Regions from separate parts of the Homo sapiens genome. Here region 2 is linked to region 1. Evidence: promoter capture Hi-C in human tissues and cell types (Jung and others, 2019). All regions are on one chromosome and are shown on one strand. The core of a region is centred on a gene start or on the middle of the fragment in contact, and the rest is flanking DNA. Distances in the headings are between cores, read along the strand shown. Region 1 holds the start of CENPM (centromere protein M). Region 2 overlaps PACSIN2 (protein kinase C and casein kinase substrate in neurons 2).

Region 1 (3,713 bases), core at 410-2,909:
CAGGCTGGAGTGCAGTAGCGCGATCTTGGCTCACTGCAACCTCTGCCTCCTGGGTTCAAATGATTCTCCTGCCTCAGCCTCCCGAGTAGCTGGGACTACAGGTACATGCCACCACGCCTGGCTAATTTTTGTATTTTAGTAGAGACGGGGTTTCACCATGTTGCCCAGGCTGGTCTCGGGCAATCTGCCCACCTTGGCCTCCCAAAGTGCTGGGATTACAGGTGTGAGCCATTGTGCCCGGCCGTTGTGTATTTTAAACATTGTGCACTGACCACTGGCTCCTCTCTCCTCACCTTACAGATTGACCTCAGCCAGCCTCTCCCATCCTCACCACTTCCCATCACAAGTTAGGTCACCGTCTCAGCACAGTCCTGAGCCAGGCCTGCCTGAGCCCTGACTGCCCCTTCCTCTGGCTCTCACCTGTATTTGCTGTGAAGATTAACCACAAACACGATCAGGTCAATTCGGGGCCGATTCACACTGGAGGGCAAAGGGAGGGACTTTGCCAAGTGGCTGAAAAACAGGAAATTGCAGGACTCAAGATATCCGTACCCCCCTCATAGCGACCGTTTAAATGCTGCCCTTCATGTGGAAAGAGGCCGTCAAGGGCTCCCCACCTCATCCTAGCCACCCGAGGCTCTTGTGGCCACGACTCCTTGGGCCAGCACAGAGGCAGGACAGGTCCGGTCCTATTCAGATTACTCCTGTCTGATTCCCTCTGCCAGAAACGGGCTCTGTTTAGTCACCACCTCGGCAAGGGGAGGTTGGGATATAAGACGGCATGGGACTAGCCAGCTACGCTGCATGCTGGGAGAAGGACCAGCCTCAGAGGAGGGGGCGCTGGGCTTCGGAGTTTAGCAGCTAGGACCGAATCCCTCTGGAGTGAGAGACACGTGGGCCCAGGCCACAGCCGCGGCTACTTACACCTTCAGCTCGGAGGCGCAGTCCTCTTTGAGCATCGAGTCCGCCAGCTGCTGCAGAAGAGCATCCTCCGTGCCCACCAGCTGCGCAGGGAGAGAGAGCGGACAGTCGAGCCCTAGGCACAGCACCCCCTGGGGAGGGCCTGGCCCTTCGACCCACTCCCGGGGGGATCGGGACACCGCCAGCAGGCGGCTCGGAGGACATTTCCCGAGAAGTGGACCCCGCGAAGCGGCACGGGCTGGGGGCCTGAGGTTTGGACCCGCTGCAGGCCTGTGGGCACCGCACTCTCTACTACCCGACCCTCGCTCCCACCGCCGGCCTCTCCAGGAGGCCAGACCCCCAGACGCGGGAAAACCAATTCCAGGCGCGGGAACTCGCCAATCAGAAGCTGGGAAAGGGTCCGCCGAGCACCTATTGGTGGGTGCGTCCCTCAACCTCAGAGAGCGGCTACTCCAATTGGTTCAGAGCATGGCTCTCCGCCTATTCCCCGCCCCCGCCACGGTAGCGCGCGCTGGCTTGGCGCCTCAGAGAGCTCAGTTGACCTAGTGGCTGAAGCACCGCCCAGGAGGAAAAACCGGCGGGGGAAGCAGGGCCGCCTGCACCTACCAAGATGGTGGCCGTGTTCAGGCCGGGCAGCTTGTCCAGGGGCCTCAACACCGACATCACAGCCGCAGGACCAACCGTTGCTCCTGCGGTGCGCGCCGATCTTTCAAACCGCCCTGAGTCCAGCCCCTAGAGCGCGGCCTGGGGGCACGTGCCTCCTTATAGGCGGGGCTTCGCGGGACGGGACGGGGCCTCTTAAAGGAACCGAACCTTTATCTCCTTTTCTGAGGGGCGTTCCAGCGCTACCCGTGGAACACGTGGTGGACAGGCCTTTGGTTCCACGCTCCACAGTAAGCAGGTTTTTAGTGATTCCTTTGTTCACTTTCATTCATTCATGCTCATACACAGTACTTTTTTTTTTTTTTTTTGAGACAGAGTCTCGCTTTGTGGCCCAGGCTGGAGTGCAATGCGCGCAATCTCGGCTCACTGCAACTTCTGCCTCCCGAGTTTAAGCGATTCTCCTGCCTCAGCCTCCCAAGGAGCTGGGACTACGGGCGCGCGTCACCACGCCCGACTTATTTTTTTATTTTTAGTAGAGACGGGGTTTCTCCAAGTTGCCCAGGCCGGTCTCAAACTCCTGGCCTCAAGTGATCCCGCCTCGGCCTCCCAAAGTGAGTGCTGAGATTACAGACGTGAGCCACCGTGCCTGGCCCTTTTTTTTTTTTTTTTTTTGGAGCGTCACTTTGTTGCCCAGGCTGGACTATAGTGACACGATCATAGCTCACTACAGCTTCAAACTCCTGGGCTCAAGTCATCTTCCTGGCTTAGCCTCCTGAGTAGCTGGAACTACAGGCAAGTGCCACCATGGGGATCTGGCCATGTTGCCCAGGTGGGTCGTAAACTCCTGGCCTCAAGCAGCCCTCCTGCTTCAGCCTCCTGAGTAGCTGGGACTACCGCTGCACACCAGCAGGCCCTGCCAATTGACTGCTTTTACAGTGAGTGGTAAGCATGCTGTTCTTTGTCCAATGGGAGACTTTACCTCATCTTTCAAGGTTCCTTGCTGCAAACACAGCCTGAGTACAGAGCTGTCAGGGTCTTGCTTTCTTGACATACCCAGCAAGAACATGCAGGGACGCTCAGGGCCCATAGCAAACTGGTTCTGCCAACAGTTATATAATAACTTGTTCACTGTCTCTACATCTAAAATGTAAGAAACAAGAGGTTAGAGACTTTGTCACTTTGTATGTCCAGCACTCTAAAAGTCCCTGGTACATCGTAGTTAATAAATATTTGTTGAGTGAATGGATGGATTACATTCATCCATTCATTCTCAGCAGTCATTCATTCATCATTTCCTATGCCCAGACCCAATGCCCTACCCTAGGAAGTCAGTTGAATCAGACATTATTGATTAACTTAGTTTGATGGGGGTGGGATAGACAATGATAACAGTGTGTTCATTGTTGTAATAACTGGGAGAGCAGAGACACTGTCTAGCCTAAATCCTTCTTACTGCAGACTAAACTAACTGTGTCTTGCTCAGAAAGATCAGGACGTAAATGGCCCCATAGAGCCACTGCCCTCAGCACAGATACGGCTTTCATTCCTCATGGCATGGGGTGTGGAGAGGACTTCCTGAAAGTCAAGCAGTAGTAGGCACTATGACAAGAAAATAAAGTAAGCTGAACGCCGTGGCTCATGCCTATAACCCAGCACTTTGGGAGACCGAGGCGGGTGAATCACTTGAGGCCGGGAGTTTGAGGCCAGCCTAGGCAATATAGTGAGACCTCATCTCTACAAAAAAATTTTTAAATTAGCTGAGCAGGGTGGGCATGGTGGTTCACGCATGTAATCCCAGCATTTTGGGAGGCCGAGGCGGGCGGATCACCTGACATCAGGAGTTTGAGACCAGCCTGACCAGCATGGAGAAACCCTGTCTGTACTACTAAAAATACAAAATTAGCTGGGCGTGGTGGTGCATGCCTGTAATCCCAGCTACTTGGGAGGCTGTGGTAGGAGAATCGCTTGAACTTGGGAGGCAGAGGTTGCAGTGAGCTGAGATTATGCCAGTGTACTCTGGCCTGGGCAACAAGAGCGAAACTCCATCACAAAAACAAAAAACAAACAAACAAATTAGCCAGGTATGGTGGCGGTGGCGGGCGCCTGTAATACCACCTACTCGGGAGGCTGAGGCAGGAGAATCACTTGAACCTGGGAGGCGGAGGTTGCAGTGAGCTGAGATCGCACCA
Region 2 (3,713 bases), core at 451-2,950, 1.0 Mb after region 1:
TTGCCCTTGTTTCCTTGGCACCTAGCACAGGGCTTAGGGTCTAGGGGCACAGCATATGCTAAAAGAGGAAAAGAGAAAAGCCCACGAGAGAAATGGCAGCCTCATCCTTGGGGACACATAGCTCAGGTGTGGATGCCAAGTACCAAGAACAGAAGCGTAGCCTTAACTTGTAGCCTGATACAAATGCCAGCTCACAGCCCACGAGCTGTGGAATCGCAATTCAATTTACCTCAGAGCCTCTGTTTCCTCACCTGTATAAAAAGGACCAGCATCTCCCACCTCACATGTTACCAAGTGGATTACATGAGATAAAGCACCTGGCCTGGTGCCTGGCAGCTCACTGTTGTCCTGAAATCTATGTAAGTCTCCTTCCCTCCGTATCCCTATGTCGACTCTGCTTCCGGTTATCCGCCATCCAGTGTACCATGACTAGGTACAATGAAAAACAAAAGCCAGTTCCACCAAGGGCCTGGCGCCTGAACCGTCTACCCAAGGCCCTTTCCCATGAGCACCAAATAGCAGGTGCCATACCCAGAGCATTCACCTGTTAATTAGATATGATCTACTTCTAAACAGTAGGGAAGGATGCCAGCTCCCCTTTGCCAATGATTTCCATTCCCTCAATGCTCCTGGTCTAAGCCACGCCTAACTCCTCCCCACTGGAGAACAGTAGAGGAGAGTGCTCTTCCTGGTGAGTAGGGGCAGAAGTACCACATACAGGCTTCTTGTCTGGGTAGAGGCCATCCATTAAAAGATCATAAGCACCAGCCATGGCCAACATGGTGAAACCCTGCCTCTATTAAAAATACAAAAATTAGCTGGGCATGGTGGTGTGTGCCTGTAATCCCAGCTACTCGGGTGGCTGAGGCACCGTAACTGCTTAAACCTGGGAGGTGGAGGTTGCAGTGAGTTGAGATTGTGCCACTGCACTCCAGCCTGGGCAACACAGTGAGATCTTGTCTCAAAAAAAAAAAAAAAAAGAAAAGAAAAGAGAAGAAGGAGGAGGAGGAGGAGGAGAGGAAGAAAAGAGAAAGAAGAAGAAGAAGAGGAGGAGGAGGACGAGGAGAAGGAACAACAACAACAACATAAGCTTTGGGAATTAGTCCTCTTTTCCTTTCCTCTCCACCCCAGATTGATGCAAGGCAGCCAGCTGGAGCAAGGATATCTCCTCTGCAGACCCAGCTGACCTTTGAGTAGACTGTGCCAGGGCCTAGAATGTGGGTCAGGGAGAGTCAGCAAGCCCACCTGCCTGCACTGCAGATGAGCTCTAGTCCACCACTTCTACTACATTGTAACAAGGGTGGCATTTTGGTCTTGTTCTGACACTCACATCACCCTCTCTAAGGTCCAATCTGTATCAGTTTAACCTACTGACTCCCTTAAATCCAATGCCAATACTCAGTTATTAGCATGGAGGACGCTCCCACCATATTCACCACAAGTTTTAGTACTTTCACAGGATACAGAAATCCATTAGAGAAAGTCCCCATTCTTGTGGTTTACTCATAAGACAAATAAAACTAAAATATATCTATTAAAAGGTAGAAAGGGGGCTGGGCATGGTGGCTCATGCCTATAATCCCAGCACTTTGGGAGGCTGAGGCAGGAGAATTGCTCGAGCTCAGGAGTTCGGGCAAGACCCTGTCTCTACAAAAATAAAAAATATATACAAATATATATATATATAGCATGCACACAATGAAAAATTATCCAGCTGTAAAAATGAATGAAAAATGAAATTTGCAGATTACTTATGAGTCTCTTTTTATAAAATTCATAAACAAAAATAGAATATATTATTTACAGATACATGTGTATAAGTATTCTTTTTTTTTTCCCTTTTTCTAACCAGAGCCTTGTCAATATTCTTTAAAAAAAAAAAAAAGGTGCAGGAATGATGAACTATTCTAGAATGCCTTTACCCCCTGGCAGGGAGCACCCACTAGGAGTTTCCCTGTGGTGCACAGTGGTTTAGTTCTCCAGCTAGGAGGTTGGCTCCCAGGCATTTATTAGTATGTTCCAAAACTTATATATCCATCACCTCTTATTTTACATGAATTTTAAGTTATCTAAGAAAACATTTCTAAACTAGGGGTAGATGAGAGAAATGCTGTAAGACAGACACAAGAAAAAGACCCACTGATAGATGTTCAACAAATACCAGGCCAAAAGCGGGCCAATGCTGAGACACCCTGGCCCCCATGGCTTTCCAGGCCAGTCTGGAAGGTCCAATCTGAGCTGAAACCCTACAGAGTTCACAGCATTGAGGCCTTCCCCTCCTCTGTCATTTGGAGAACATTCATCATCTTATTTTGCATGTAGGAGAGGAAAAGGGGGCTAGAAACTATGCCTGTGCTAATTCTTCACCTAGAGGGAGTACAGAACCTTGGCACCTGCCAGGCTAACCCACCCACTGCTGACCCTCCTCACTCTAAATGTCACAGGTAGTTCTCAAAATGCCTCCAGGCTTATCACTTTAACGATCCTCTTCCCAGCCCAACCCCAGGAATTCCTGGTTCCTATAGAGCAAGGCCAGAAGCTACACCCTGGTGAAAGGCCACTGGCAAGCGCAGGCCTTAATGCACACTTGCTCCAGACAGAGCAGAGGCAACACTGGCCAGCCCAGGCGACAGACTGGCTCCTCTCCCCAAAAGCCTGACAAGTCCACAGGATCATCGATTTGAGGCAACAGTGCTAAATGCAGGCCTCCCTGTCATGCCTGGAGTGTCACAGAATGGCCACTTAACAGGCTTGCTGCTGGGTGTTGGCACCTATTTCTGTATTTATGTAGATTCTATGACTGTTTTAGATTTTCATTAAGATTAGCGGCAGAATTGTATTACATGCCTTTTAAATATGCTAACATAACCACATGGGTTTTCTTTTTAATGTGATACAGTGAATTGTGATGTATAACATTAACTGAGCACTTATTATGCACCAAACCCAGGTCTAATCATTTCACAGATACCCCATTTCGTCCTTCCATCAACCCTATACAGCAGTATTGTAATTGTCCTGCCAATTTTATAGATGAGGAGACTGAAGCTCAGGGAGATTAACTAATTTGGCTAACGTCAGAGAATTAGTAAATGGCAGGACTGGGGCAAACCATGCTCTAATCCCTGAGCTAGAAGTTTCTCCAGCCGACACAATACCTCATGTTATGCTATCCTTGCATTGCTAGAGTAAACCTTGTTTGGTCATGAAAAATTAATCTTTTAATACACTACTGTATTCAAATTATTATTTGATTTAGAAACCTACTTTAAAATGTTGCAAATATATAAACATATATATGCATTAATAGACACATATTACATTCATATGAGACTGATCTGTAATTTCATTTAGACCATGGATGGAAGAAGAAACAAACATTTTTACAAAGAAATAGAAATAGAAATTTGCAAAAAATCTTAAAATTTTATGGCAAAACACACCTAAACAATGTAAAAACAAACTATAGAAACAATAGCTGGGGACACATTTGCAATGCACACAACAAATAATTTATAGCCCTAATATACAAAGAGTTCCTAAAAATTCAAAACAATCCAGTAGACGGAAAAACGGAGAAAGGATATAGGTATGGAATTCACAGAAGAAAAAATAAAGAAAAAAGGTGAAATGGTGCTCAACCTCACCAGTACTCAGGAAAACACAAATTAAAATAAAAGTGCTCCATAGAAACAGAATGGTGAAAAACAGTT

What was found. Contacts are between HindIII fragments. The study calls those that stand out against the background at their distance.
Region 2: a fragment that was not itself captured here is called in contact with the fragment with the promoter of CENPM in region 1 in 1 of the 25 tissues and cell types used here (lymphoblastoid cells).

The regions. Positions count from the first base shown.
Region 1 is chr22:41,945,493-41,949,205 of GRCh38, forward strand. It overlaps CENPM (centromere protein M), which reads right to left and starts at 1,660. Exons shown (of 6, transcript NM_024053.5): 1 at 1,528-1,660; 2 at 925-1,004; 3 at 421-513. The coding sequence starts at 1,584. It also overlaps a transcript of SMIM45 not described here. RefSeq lists an enhancer at 1,464-1,673. The HindIII fragment of the contact is 14,723 bases long and covers 1-3,713 here.
Region 2 is chr22:42,973,786-42,977,498 of GRCh38, forward strand. All of the region lies in intron 1 of PACSIN2 (protein kinase C and casein kinase substrate in neurons 2), which reads right to left. Among named protein-coding and RNA genes, the nearest start is that of PACSIN2, 40 kb to the right of the region's middle. The HindIII fragment of the contact is 8,338 bases long and covers 1-3,713 here.